2 separate regions of the Homo sapiens genome follow, and region 2 is linked to region 1. The links are contacts of gene promoters, found by promoter capture Hi-C in blood cells and fetal thymus (Javierre and others, 2016). All regions are on one chromosome and are shown on one strand. Each heading gives the region's core, a stretch centred on a gene start or on the middle of the fragment in contact. The rest is flanking DNA. Distances are from core to core; before and after follow the strand shown. Region 1 holds the start of CYRIA (CYFIP related Rac1 interactor A). Region 2 has its middle 46 kb from the start of LINC01804.

Region 1 (3,793 bases), core at 591-3,090:
CTCACAAACTTGAGCTGTATTAGTAGAGACAGATGGGTGTAAAGTGAAAAGTCCTCTCATGGTCTGAAATGATAGTGTTTTATGGGGATGAATGGTGTTTGTGGCTGATTAGTCCTCACTCTTCCCAAAACCTGGCCAAACTCAAGGTGGACAGATTAAGCCAGAAAATTTTAGGGGTGTGTGTATGTGTGTGTGTGTGTGTGTGTGTGTGTGTGTGTGTGTGTAGTAGACATGGTTTACCTCATGGCAAGAAGGCTTTTCTCATAGAGCCACTCACAGATAAAACACCTTTGCCAGACGGCTGCGGTGGTTCACGCTTGTAATCCCAGCACTTTGGGAGGCCAAAGTGGGTGGATCACGAGGTCAAGAGTTCAAGACTAGCCTGACCAAGATGGTGAAACCCCGTCTCTACTAAAAATACAAAAATTAGCCGGATGTGGTGGCAGGCGCCTGTAGTCCCAGCTACTCTGGAGGCTGAGGCAGGAGAATTGCTTGAACCCCGGGGGATGGAGGTTGCAGTGAGCCGAGATCACACCACTCCACTCCAGCCTGAGCTACAGAGTGAGACTCTGTCTCAAAAAACAAAAACAAAAAAAACACCTTTGCAGGAATTGACAACAGAGGCTGGTCTAGGGCATGGGGAAAACTCAAAAAGAGAACGGGAAAGTGTTTCTTCTGGTCCTAAGGACCCCTTCCAAGTGGGAAAATATTTCACTCTAACTAGACAGTGCCTTCCTGCCCTCTGTGAATTTTTGCCAAAAAACAGACCAAGAGCCTCTGTGGGCAGTTCAGGAGAGCCTTTCAGAGTGCAAAGGAAGCTTGGGCAACAAGTCCTCCCAGGGGAAACACCCTGGATCTCAGAAAGGAGAGGGGCCTGAACACCTTCTCCTGATGCTTCCCGCCTCCTCTGATCCCAGCCCACACAGGGCCCCAACCCATGCAGCTTCGGGCACGTACCTTGGCACACTATGGGGATTTAACACATGTTTCATGATGTTCTGGCTGATGGACTGGGAAAGGAAGCACCCGAAGCCGGGGTCCCCAGGAGCTCTCCCTCCCCTCAACAGGAGCTCTGACTCACAACCTGTTTGGCACTGCTGAGTCCTCTCCGGTTTCCTGAATCTCCCTCTCTCTAATGCAAAAAGCCTCCATGGCAGATGTTTTAGAACAATGATCACGTCAATGACGCTGTAACCCACTACTTTCTTTTTGCATCATAGAATTTTTTAAGTGTTTTTGCAGACTTACTCTTTAAGGTTAATTACATGTTTTGGATTGAGCCTTTGGGAAGACTTTACAGTGGTCCTATCGGATAACTGCGGGCCCCAAGGCTGGAGATCTGTTAATAGGGTGGGCAGAAAGGGACTGGGAGCGAGACTGGGTTCAGAATCTCAAGTAATTTGGAGTGTGCCTAGGGATTGGGATGATTTGGCTGGGCATTAATTTGAAGGTGAATATGCGTCTAGAGATTGCGGGGATTTCTTTTTCTTGGAGGGCAACCGTGGGTGTGGAGGAATTTGGTGTGCAGAAACAGAAAGGTCTGGTTCGGGCTTCCTCTGGGAAGGCAAGGCCAAGTGGCCAAGGCTGAGAAGGGGCAGGGGCGACCGTGCTGGGGCGGGTCCGCACCAGCTCCTGGGAGCAGAGAGCAGAGCCGGGCAAAGAGATGGGGTTGTCCAGGCTAGGGTGAGGACGCGGCCGGTGACAGCGCGGGTGGGGATCCCCCGGGGCCGGGGCGGGGCGGCTGCCGCGAGCCGGGCTGGGGGCGGGGCGGGGCGGGGAGGGACGGGGAGGGGCGGGGCGGGGCTCCGAGGCCGTCTCGCAGGCTGCGGCGGCCGCGGGAGAGGCGTACTCGGCGGCGGCGGAGCGGGCGGCAGAGCAGGGCGGCGGCGACTCGGTGAGCGCGGCGCGGCTGGGGGCGCGGCAGGGGCGCGGGCGGGGGTCTGCGGGCGCGGGGCTCGGCCTGCACGGGGCACCGCGGGGCACCGCGAGGCGGGGCGGGCGCCTCCCTGCCATCCTTCTCCTCCCGGACGCCCCTGCAGCCTTTGGGAGGGAGGGAGAGCGGAGGACACCGTCCGGGAGCCCTTCTCTAGCGATCGCCGGACAGAGGTCCGGCTTTGTGCCCCGTTGCCCTCTTTCTGAGAGGGCTGCCTCCTGATTGTGTTCCTTTCCCAGACCACCCTCCCTCGTCCCTCACTCACTTACCCCCCACCCCAGGTATCATAAGCTCCATTCTTGCAGGGGACCCCTAACACTCCCCTTCCCACCACCCGAGGCCCCGGGGTCCTGGGTACTCTCTACAGCCCCAAAGGGAGGGATGGCCCCCTCCCCAGCCCCTGCACACCTGGACCCTTCTGTTGCCACCTGCCACAGACGTTCTTAGCCAGCCAGAAAGCTGCTGTGCCTAGGACCCAGCACACCTTGCCGTCACCCTCTCTCCTCCCCCAGAACCCAGAACCCCAGTTTGGCAAAAGGCACTTTTCCAATACTGAGCTTTGGGAACAATTTGACCCACTTCCCAAAATGCTGGTCCCAGGCCAGCCATGCTTTTTGGTGGAGACACCTGTCTTGTCTGCCAGGAGACATTCTCTGTCAAAATGGGCCAGCCCGTCCCTGGGTCCTCCTCCAAGCTGCTCCTACTCGCTAGCCAGTGTCCCCAGAGACCAGGGCCAAGATCTTTGTCATTTAAGGCCTCCAAAGCTATTTCCCCACGCATCCCCAGAATTCCCCCAGCCACTGTTTTGGGGGTGCCAGGTCCAGAACTGATGGAGCAATCTTTCTGTGTCCAGGGCCTGATGTCCTCTCCCACACCCTTGTTTACCCGCCTGCTCCCCAGGGAACCCAAGACAGGGTCATGGGGCTGGAGTTTAGGGCCCTGATCTCCCCTGAAGCTCTGTGACCCTCCTTTTCTCCCTGTTAGAAACTTTCCTCTCTGTCACCAGTCACTATCTCCTCTGGATGGGACCTGGGCCATCTGCACAGTGTCGAGTCCCCAGGGCACAGAATGCTGATCTGGGACCCTGGAAGGCTGGGACTTGTGCTGGGGCAGCAGGAGGAGAGTGGCTGCTAGCCAGGTCTGGGCTTGGGTACCAGAGTTCTTTGGGTGGATCATTGTCGGCTTTCACTGATCTCTGGTTGGGGTTCGAGGGCTTGCTTTGCAGTGGAGACAGGAGGCAGAGCAGGGGCTGTTTTTCCTGCGTGCTTCTGACTGTCTTGTGTTGCTATGGTGACAGTTTTGCCTGTCTTCCTCCTTCTGACTCTTCTGGGAGCTGGTTTTTATTGGTCCGTTGTCCTGTCTTTCATGGCTCTAATTTCTCCTTTCTACTTGCTCTGAAATAAACAGTCATAAACATGGGCGCTGGGCCCAGGCTGGGGGCTGGCAGAACTTCACCTCCTGCTGGCCCTGGGTTCCTGTGAGGGGAGAGTGGGAAAGCGAGGTGGAAACAGACCTGCCCACATTCCCTCCTGCCTCTGGGCTCTGGCTCTGGGAAGGGGGCAGCAGCAGCATCACGGGCTTGGGCACATAGTGGGCGCATACTGCCTCAGTGCTAAAAATAGATACCAAATGTGGCAAAGGACCTCACTGGTGTTATTTCCTTTCATCTTCACAATAGCCCCATGGGGCAGGGGCTCTTTCCACTTTGCAGATGAGGAAACTAAGCTCAGAGCAAGTGAGTTATTTCCCTAAGGTCACATTGATTTGAGCACACAGTCAGCCCTCAGTTTTGGTTCAATGAATGGAAAAGTGATGAAGCTGACATACACGCATCTCTGTTGGGCTCCCTGGTCCTGTCCG
Region 2 (3,924 bases), core at 516-3,015, 1.0 Mb after region 1:
TATGGAAATATGCAAAGGAGTTTCCAGTTGTGCTAGTCCCCTTGTCGACAACGCCTCATCGGCAGCCACTGTGACCCTGCTGAGCAGCACATGCAAAATGCACCTCAGAAAGGAGGTGAAGTGACGTTGCTGACAGTTCAAAGAGTGTCAAGCAATGGCCATTGTTCTTGAAAAGAAGGGCAAATTTCACTTTTCCTGTTTCTCTTGTGATGTTATGGAATTCAGACAAGCTTGTGGTTTTCAACCCCACACTCTGCACTACAGTTTCCAGCACAGATTGAGGATAGAGTCATTTATTCATTCAAAAATGATGTATCAAGTGTCTTTTTTTTTCTTTTTTGAGACAGGGTCTCACTCCGTCACCCAGGCTGAAGGGCAGTGGCATGATCACAGCTCACTTCAGCCTTGACTTCCCAGGCTCAGGTGATTCTCCCACCTCAGCCCTGCTGGGACTACAGGCGTGGGCAACCATGCTCCCACCCCCAGCTAATTTTTTGTAGAGATGGGTTTTCGCCACATTGCCCAGGCTGGTTGTCTACCTTCCTTGGCCTCCCAAAGGGCTAGGATTATAGGCATGAACCACTGCACCTGGCCCTCAAGTGTCTATATCACACCAGGAGTTGGCTGACCATGGCTGCCCTGGCAAATAACTCAGTTGAATCCAGGCAGGTCAGCCCCTACCACCAAGCCATGGGACTGCATGGGATCCAACAGTGTGATGCTGGGAGGTAGCAGTGGGTAGCAAGAGCATAAGCTTTGCAGTCAAAGAAACCAGGGATCCAGCCACCACTTGCCACTCAGCGCTGTGGATGCTGGTTATCTAACCTCTTTGAACCTTATCATCTTCATCTGTAAATGTCCACACCAATGCCTTCCATACCGACCAATATCTAGTAGCAGTGGATATGTGTTGTTTGGCCACCCAGTCTCCACACCCCTTTCCTCTGACCACAGCTCTCCAAATCCCTTTCAGGGACCATCTTCCAGCCTCATCTTTTTAGTTTCTAGTGGGGCTCCCAGCTCTACAGATGGAGTGAGCAGCTGGCCTAGGTCTGGCCAATCACGCACCAAATTCCCCCAGCCAGAGTGATTGGTCATGACTGGACAAATGATCCCATTCTTCAAACTGTCATAGTATATCCTGGGTCTTCTACGAGAGCAGCTCTCAGTTTTTGCTGGACTCAAAAGCTCTGAGCCTGAGACTTAGAATGAAGCCAACACAGAGAACAGAGGACTAGGGAATCCAGAAGGCAGAGAAACCAAGCTCCACTGTCACCATGTGACATCCTCGATTAAGGGCCATCGGAAGCCTGAGTCTGGGCTTCTCCATTATGTGAACAAATACATTTCCTTTTTTGCCTAAGACAGAGTTGAAGTTTCTGTCATTTGTAATCAGAAGGTCCCTAAATTGATGCAAATCAAAGTCTCTCATTTTCTCTTCATACCATCTTAGTGAAGCAGGAATTGCTCAGAGGGCCTTTCTGAGAATTTTTTTGTCATGGTGCATGCTAGCAAAGCGGATTACTTGACAAACACCTGCTTAATTATGCCAGCATTCCTATCTCTAGATACTAACATCTGCTCATCCTTCAAGGCTTATCATTGTCACCTCTACCTAGAAGCCTTCCCTGAACCCCCAGGCTGGGCCAGGAGCTCTGGGTCCTCTTTGCTCATTCCATCACTGCACTTGTGACTCTTACTTGTACCCTCTCTGCCATCTACTCCCATGCACTAGGGGGAAAGGGACCTGGTATTCACTTCTTCATTTATGTGTGCATGGCACCCAGTCCAGTGCTTTGCAAGCAGATTCCATGAAGAGTAACTGACTAATGAATGAATAAATTTGGTGAGAAAAATGCACATGCCTGGACATGAGATTCACATGACCCCATCATCACATATTTACATAATGTGTATGCTGCAGAGACATTTAGTTGCCTCCTCAACATCCAACTTTCCATTCTGGCTTAGACACAGAACTCCAATCTTCCCAGACTTAAAAAAAAAAAAAAAAAAAAAACCACCCTACATATTCTAGCCTCTCTTGAGGAGATGTGGCCCCAAGTTCTAGCTAATGAGCTGTATATAGAAGTTGTTGCATCAGACTTCTGGGAAGACTCTTTAAAAGGGAGACAACCAGAAAGGGAGCTCCTTTTTGGCTTTCTCTTTTTTTCTCTTTTCTGCTGTACTTAATGCAGATATGATGGCTTGTGCTCCAGCAGCAAGTGAGATCATGCGGCATCTCTGAGGATGGACGTCATGAGCTAAGCATGGAAAAGCGGAAAGCCAGAAGGAGCTGGGATATCTGATGATGAAGGGCTGACGTTACTAGCTCCTAGCTCCAGACTGCCTGCCTCTACACCTTCTTTTTTTTTTTGTTTATACCTTATCTGAAAACTCCCAAATACACTTTTTTATATCAAAAAGAAAATAAATCCTTTGTATTTGAGCCACCATATTTTGAGTGCATTGCTGTATGTAATTGAACCTAATCCTAACTGCTGTGTCACTAAATGCTATATTAATATTCACTGATAATATTTCTCTATTTTAATCATAAAATGAAATTTTTAAACCCAACATTTGGAACAGTGCATGCGTGCCAGATATTGTGGTGGCATACAGCGGGAGACACAGATACAGGGAAGGAGACATTTTACAACTGGTTAAAATACATGTACCAGTTCATCACTTTCTATGGGAAAAAATATTATTTTATTCATTTTATGATATGAAAATTAGAGATTGTTCATGTTAAAGTAGAATTCAAGCTTGTATTTCTTTATTTTTAATTCCAGCTCCACCCCCCATCATCATACTGCCTTAACAGCAGCGGGGAGGGCTGTGGGTGATCAGGGATTCCTCCCTGTCTTCCTGCCACAGAGCCTGAGTAGATCAAAAGGCCAAGAGCATGAGGAGACTTTGCTCCTTCAGAATCGCTCCTTGGCCCCCTGAAATGAATGACCAGCTTTAACAGACTTTTCCCCCCCAGCTCACATTCCCCATGGTTGGTGAGGCAGAAAATTCACAAGAACAAAGCTCTTGCCCTAGAAAGATCTTCTTTTCAATTTAGGGTCAATTCCACTTTGGGGACTTCCAGAAGAGTCACCTTTAAATTAAGAAAAGAGAAAAAGAAGCTGTTGCATATAAGCCAGGGAAAACCACACACGAATGTGAACAGCACCCGCGTTCCACCCAGCAGCACGGATTTTTTGTGGGAAACTTATACAGAGCCCCGTAAGCCTCCAAGGAGGTGAGAGTCGGGAGGCGGGGGACGGGCAGAAAGACGTTGGAGTCCAAGAAACTGGATTCATTTTTCTACCGGCTGTGAGTAGGGCAACTTCTAAGGGCCTCATCTTGTCCTTCTGGAAAATGGGCAAGCAGCCTGCACCCTGCTGTCCTCACGCAGCCATTGTGAGGCCAAGAAGAGATGGCATTTGGTGAAGGGTCTCTGTCCTCCCCTGCCCCCCAGGACAGCTGGCCATGTCACTCCAGCCTGAACATGTGGTGGCATCCTGCTCTAGAATCTACCTGGGCTCACCTTCTCCCAGCCTTTCAGGACATATTGACATGCACTTGGGTTAATGAAAGTCAACATTCTTTACATTTCACCCCTTGTGAAATATCAGGAAGCTAGGCTCCATGTGGTCTGGCTCAGCTGGGAAACCATCGCTGAACCCTTGTTCTATCGGTCTGCGGACACGATTCAGTGTCTTGAGCTCTGTGGGATCAGCTGTCCCTCTGAGCTGAGCCAGCCCTCCCGTGAGTGGTGTTCAGCCTCCGGGGCCCGGGACCGGGAACAAGGGCAGACCAGCCTGCAGTCTGCATCCAGCGGCCAGGTCAAGGTGATCGAGTTTCTCTCTCCAGTCACAAATTCCATCACCCCTGGCTCCAGGGTAATACACTCAATCTCAGGGCTTGAGC

What was found. Contacts are between HindIII fragments. The CHiCAGO score rates a contact against its expected background, and 5 or more counts as called.
Region 2: a contact is called between a fragment that was not itself captured here and the fragment with the promoter of CYRIA in region 1, in 1 of 17 cell types (endothelial precursors). The highest score is 6.2, in endothelial precursors.

Annotation. Positions count from the first base shown.
Region 1 is chr2:16,663,881-16,667,673 of GRCh38, reverse strand. CYRIA (CYFIP related Rac1 interactor A) reads left to right here and starts at 1,840. Exons shown (of 12, transcript NM_030797.4): 1 at 1,840-1,894. RefSeq lists silencers at 1,634-1,803, 1,874-1,923. The HindIII fragment of the contact is 7,241 bases long and covers 821-3,793 here.
Region 2 is chr2:15,642,326-15,646,249 of GRCh38, reverse strand. No RefSeq gene overlaps it. Among named protein-coding and RNA genes, the nearest start is that of LINC01804, 46 kb to the left of the region's middle. The HindIII fragment of the contact is 2,017 bases long and covers 757-2,773 here.